2 separate regions of the Homo sapiens genome follow, and region 2 is linked to region 1. Evidence: promoter capture Hi-C in human tissues and cell types (Jung and others, 2019). All regions are on one chromosome and are shown on one strand. Each heading gives the region's core, a stretch centred on a gene start or on the middle of the fragment in contact. The rest is flanking DNA. Distances are from core to core; before and after follow the strand shown. Region 1 holds the start of MAPK4 (mitogen-activated protein kinase 4). Region 2 has its middle 56 kb from the start of MAPK4.

Region 1 (2,885 bases), core at 208-2,707:
TATTACAATAAGGTCATAGCATAGCTATCTTGAACATAGTAGGTACTCAATAAATATCTGTTACATTGAGAACGTCATGACGCTTCACCTTCGCACGGGGTAGGTGCTCAATACATATCCATTCAATTGAAAAGTCTGCAGTATACCTGCTTTTCACATAGTAGGTGCTCAATAAGTATATTTTACATTAAGGTTATTTAAGATAGCTGCCTTGCACACAGTAACCTCCCAGTAAATGGCTACTGAGCAGTTGTGGACACTCCTCAACCCAGGCAGGGGTGACATTAATCAACCCCCAGGCACAGATCCATGAATGGAAATGCACGTCTCGAGGTAGTGCTTTCGAGAGTGCTGGAGAGGCGCGTGACAGTACGCGGCCGCTGCGCTCTGTCGGGACGCTGCTGACCCACTGCTGGCTCCAGGGTATCGATTAGCGATCGGAATCCATTCCCCACCCAGGGGCGGGAAACAGCCGCCGCCTCCAATGGTCATTTCGGGGACGCACCTGGAACTCCCGCCACAGCCCCCTCCCGGGGCATCCGCCCACCCCGGCTTCACCTACGATTCCGTAGAGTAGCTGGCAGAACAAAAGCAAAAGCCGGCCTGACTTCCGATTGCTTTCCTGATAGAGAGCAACCCGGGAGGAGGCTCAGGGAGCCGGCCCGGGACCCAGCTGGGATGTCAAACCCGAGCCGCTGCCCTCTCCGGCAGGCTGGGGCTCTGGGTCGCCCAGCGGCGAAAGCGGCGGGGTCCCCCCACTCCCCCTCTCCCAGGGGCTACCTACCGCCAGTGTAGGCGCCTCTGTCGGGTGGCGAGGGGAGAGGACGCTGTATTAACCCTTCAACGAGAAAGGGAGAGGCTGGAGGGGAGGATAATCGGGACTGCGATCCGAATCTGAACTCGCAGTGTGAACTGCCCCTCGGCGACCCCAAGCGCTCCGGACTGTCCCCGGGGGTGGGGTCCCCTAGCGGCGCCCGGCCCCTGCGTCCTCCTCCCCTAAACACAACGCGAGGAGCCCAGCGGCAACCTCCCATCCCAAACGGGTCCAGGACAGCACCGGCGCGCGGTCTGCAGGCGAGGAGCTCACCCAGGGCAGCCGGGCGGGTCCCGCGGGAGACCCCCGCCGCTCGGAAACTCGCTAGTTTGGCAGTGGCTTGGCCTGGGGGGCTTATTGTTAGGGTAAGGTGGGGAGGCAGTGCGGGCGGGGAAGTCTCATCTCTTCCCCGCTTCTCCGGAGCCCGCCGAACTCCGAGAGGCGCAGGCGGCGGGAGGAGAAAGCCAGCGGAGGGGAGCCACTTACCGAGGCAGAGCCCGAGAGCGTGGCGGCCCGGGCGCGAGCCGCCCTTTGTCTGCGGCCGCGGCGCCGGCGCGCTCGGCCAGGCCGGTCCCAGCCACGGCGCACGGCGAGCTCCCGCGGTCGCCCCGACAGCCCGGCTCGCTGCTCCAGCTCGGGCTCCGGCTCCCGCCCCGGCCCCGGCCCCAGCCTGCGCCGCCGCCGCCTCGGCTCCGCCCAGAGCCGGGCCCCGCCCCCGCCCACTGGGCCCCCACCTGCTGCGGCGGTGGCGCTGGGGAGCCGGGCCCTGGGCGCCCGGGGGCGGCAGTCTCCCGCGCGCCCTGCTCTGCCCTCCCGCAGCCTCCAGGCCGCTCAGCCGCGCGGTCCTGGGGCCTTCCCGGACCCAGTCCCGCGGAGACGAGCTCACCTGGGGAGCCGAGCCCCGTCCCGGGTAGCCTGGCCTTCCCGGGGCACACGCGGTAGAGCTCCAGTCACTCAGAAGCCCTTCCTCACGCCCGCCGTGGGTGGGGGATCCTCGGGCTCCGTCCGGGAGGGAGGGGGCGCCGAGAAGGCGGGAAGCGGGGATCTGCCTGAGCCCGGTCGCCGCCCCGCCAGCCCCGCGCGGCTGCAGCCGCCGGGGGCCCGGTGGGAGGGTGGGTGGGGAGAAGGAGCCGGCGGGGACCGGTGGGCTCTGGAACCGGGGAGACCCGCGCGCGCGGGAAGGGGCACTGGGCCGAGGGTCGAGGGGGCGCGGAGCCCAAGTGCACCGGTCCCCAGCCGGCCTGGGATTCCGAGCGGGCCGCCTGGGCTGTGAATCTGTGCTCATTGGCATGACCGGAATAAAACTAACAAAAGAGAACCAACACTTTGGGATCCAGAGGAAAGGGACAGAAGAAGCCACTGGACCCTAACACTGGTAATAACTGGTGCTTCTGTGGTGCCTTCAGCGAGCCCAGAGCTGTGGGCACCGATGAGGGTCGTCACTGAACGCGGTGCGTCCCGTTGGAATGGTTGAGGCGCTGCTTTTCTAGGCATAGAAAAGTCTGATAACCTAAATATTGCATAATGAGGTCACTGGTGGCTTTAGCTGCCCATGAGCCTTCTCCTCTCCCAACTCCCAAAGCCTTCCGAGTGAGACCTGCGTTTTGGCACTTTCATAGGGTCTGCTGTGTACTGCAGTTATTCCCGCTTCGTCCCCCACCTCTACCCCCAGACCCTAATACAATTCCAGACGCTTAATAATTGTTGCAAGAATTCGCTGTCGAATTTTAGCGTGGGCAAAACATAAAAATGAAGGATTGTGGGATCATATTGGAAAATGCACTAAGGGTTTGCACAGTGATGGTGGTATGAAGGGTAATGAGTGTTGGCTGCCATTAGTACATAGTTGCGCTGCGACTCCTATGTGTGCAGGTAGTAGGTTTAGGATGATATGCTAAGTTAGAGACTGCAGTTATCAGGACCTTCATTAACCTCAGAGAATAGTTAGGGATAAGGAAGGAGTGTGTAACAAGCGAGTGTGTGTATATCTGTGGTAAGACATTCCAATGTGTCTTCCCCAAAGAGAACATTTTAACATTTTGCTTCCTTGATTTTCATTACAAGTAGTATC
Region 2 (2,885 bases), core at 288-2,787, 56 kb after region 1:
AAAGTAACTGCAATAACCACAGTTACTTTTGCACCAACCCAATACAAACTCTGAGTTGAAGAATTGAACTTAAAGGAGGCCTTTTGGTTCTTCCTCACCTGAATCTGAGATGGTCAGTTCCCCAGAAAAGATCCAACCTGATTTACCACACTCAGTTTCCAGTAGAGAAGGTGGGGCACAGAGACAATGTATGAGGTAGGGTCCTTTCTAGGCCTCTTACATCATGGAGACAGAAAATAAAAATAAGCATCTGGCCCATTCAAAGGACCCAGGCCCTCTTTCTGAAGCAACTACATCTTATTATTTATCTACTGCTATGTAACAAATTACCTCAACACTTGGTGGTTTTAAAACAACATTTATTATCTCACAGGTTCTGTGAATCGGAAATCTGGGCATGCCTTGACTGGGTCCTTGGGCTCAGACTGTGTTATACCACTGCAATCAGGCTGTCAACCAAGGCTCACTATGGAAGGGTCCACTTCCAAGCTCATTTATATGGTTGTTGATAGGATTCAGCTCCTTGTGAGCTATCGGACTGAGAACTTCAGTCCCTTATTGGCCTCTTGGCCAAAGGCTGCCCTCAGTTCCTGACACATGAGCCTCTCTATATGGTGGTGCATTATATGACAGCTTGCTTTATCAGAATAAGCAAGTGGGAAAAGCCAAGCAGAGCATGTGCAAACGAGAGAGAAGTCACAGTCTTTTGAAACCTATTCTCAAAAGTGATGTCTCCTCACCTTTATTATATTCTACTCATTAAAATATAAATGTCATTTAGAAAATTTGAAAATATGTGGAACAATAACAGTCATAAGTAACTATTATGTAAAGAAGAAATAAAAAGGAAAATCCAAAAATATAGGCATTTATAGCTATACATATTATAATGTATAGCTATAAATGCCTATATTAAAAAGAAGAAAGATGTCTTTTAAACACAAATATTTCCTATCGTGTTTTAAATATCTTTTAAATACAAAAATTAGCTGGGCATGGTGGCACACGCCTATAATCCCAGCTACTCGGGAGGCTGAGGCATAAGAATTACTTGAACCCAGGAGGTGGAGGTTGCAGTGAGCTGAGATTGTGCCACTGCACTCCAGCCTGGGTGACGGAGCAAGACTCTGTATCAAAACAAAACAAAAAACAAATGTTAACTTTTTTTCCTATCGTGTTTCTCTCTCCCACCATTTCCTTTAAGATGAATGAAATAAAAACACAACATACCAAAACTTACAGGATGCAGCTGAAGTGACATTTACTGGGACATGTATAGCTATAAATGCCTATATTATAAAAGAAAGATTTCAAATCAACCTAACCTCCACCTGAAGATGCTGAAGAAAGATCTAAAGCAAGGAGAAGATAGAAAATAATAAAGATTAGAATAGAAATTAATGAAACAAGGAAGAGAAAAACAATATATAAAAATCAATACCAAAAGCATGTTCTTTGAAAACATCAATAAAATTAACAAACCTTTAGCTAGATTGACAAAAAAAAAAAAGATTATAAAGGGAATACATGCAAAATATATGATATTATATGCAAAAACCTAGATAACCTGGATGAAATGAACAAATTCCTAGAAAGACATAAACTAATAAAACTGACCCAAGAAGAAATAGACACTCTGAACAAAACTGTAATAATGGAAAAGAATGAATTAGTAACAAAAAATCAGATTACTCAAAGAGAAAAGCAGGAACAGATGGCATCAATGCAGACATTCTACCAAATGTATAATTGATACCAACTTTTCACAAACTCAAATTCAAAAAAATAGAAGAAGGAACTCTTCCTAATTCATTCCATGAAATTAGAATATGAGATGATCTGTTCCCCAGAAACTGACCAGAAATTATTCTGATACCAAAATAAGACAAATGCATCACAGAAAGACTGCAGATCCATGTCTCTTATGAATATGTATGCAAAGATTGTAAACAAAAATACTAAGAAACCAAACTGGCAGTGTGCAAAAATTATACACATAACCAAGTACAATTTATCCCAGGAGTGCAAAGGTGGTTCAACACAAGAAAACCAATCAATATAATATACTGCATTAATAGAATGAAGGGAAAAAATCACATGATCATCTCAATTAATGCTGAGAAAGCATCTGACAAAATCTGACATTATTTCATGATTAAAAACATCAAACAAACTGGGAATAGAAAGGAATTTCATTAACTTGATAAAGGACATGTATGGAAAACCCACAGCTAACATCATACTTAATGGTGAAAGACTGAATTCTTTTCCCTTAAGATCTGTAACAACACAAGATGCCCATTCTCACCACATTTATTCAACATTGTACTGGAGGTTCTAGCCAGGACAATTAGGCAAGAAAAATAAGGTAAAAGCCATCCATTTTGGACAGGAAGAAGTAAAACTATCTCTATTCACAAATGACATAATCTTGTATATAGAAAATTCTAAAGAATCTAGTAAAAAAAACTATCAAAAGTAATAAACGAGTTCAACAAGATTGCAGAATACAAGATCAATGTAAAAAGATTGTATTTCTAGACTGATCTAGGGGGCATTCCAAGATGGCCGAATAGAAACAGCTCCAGTCTGCAGCTCCCAGCATGATCGATGCAGAAGATGGGTGTGATTTCTGCATTTCCAACTGAGGTACGTGATTCATCTCACTGGGACTGGTTGGACAGTGGGTGCAGCCCACAGACGGCAAGCCAAAGCAGGGTGGGGCATCACCTCACCTGGGAAGCACAAGGGGTCGGGGTATTTCCCTTTCCTAGCCAAGGGAAGCCATGACAGACTACCTGGAAAAATGGGACACTCCTCCCCAAATACTGTGCCTTTCACAAGGTCTTAGCAACTGGCAGACAAGGTGATTCTCTCCCATGCCT

The links. Contacts are between HindIII fragments. The study calls those that stand out against the background at their distance.
Region 2: a fragment that was not itself captured here is called in contact with the fragment with the promoter of MAPK4 in region 1 in 2 of the 25 tissues and cell types used here (aorta and stomach).

The regions. Positions count from the first base shown.
Region 1 is chr18:50,558,659-50,561,543 of GRCh38, reverse strand. It overlaps MAPK4 (mitogen-activated protein kinase 4), which reads right to left and starts at 1,457. Exons shown (of 6, transcript NM_002747.4): 1 at 1,301-1,457. The HindIII fragment of the contact is 20,188 bases long and covers 1-2,885 here.
Region 2 is chr18:50,502,891-50,505,775 of GRCh38, reverse strand. No RefSeq gene overlaps it. Among named protein-coding and RNA genes, the nearest start is that of MAPK4, 56 kb to the left of the region's middle. The HindIII fragment of the contact is 5,262 bases long and covers 1-2,885 here.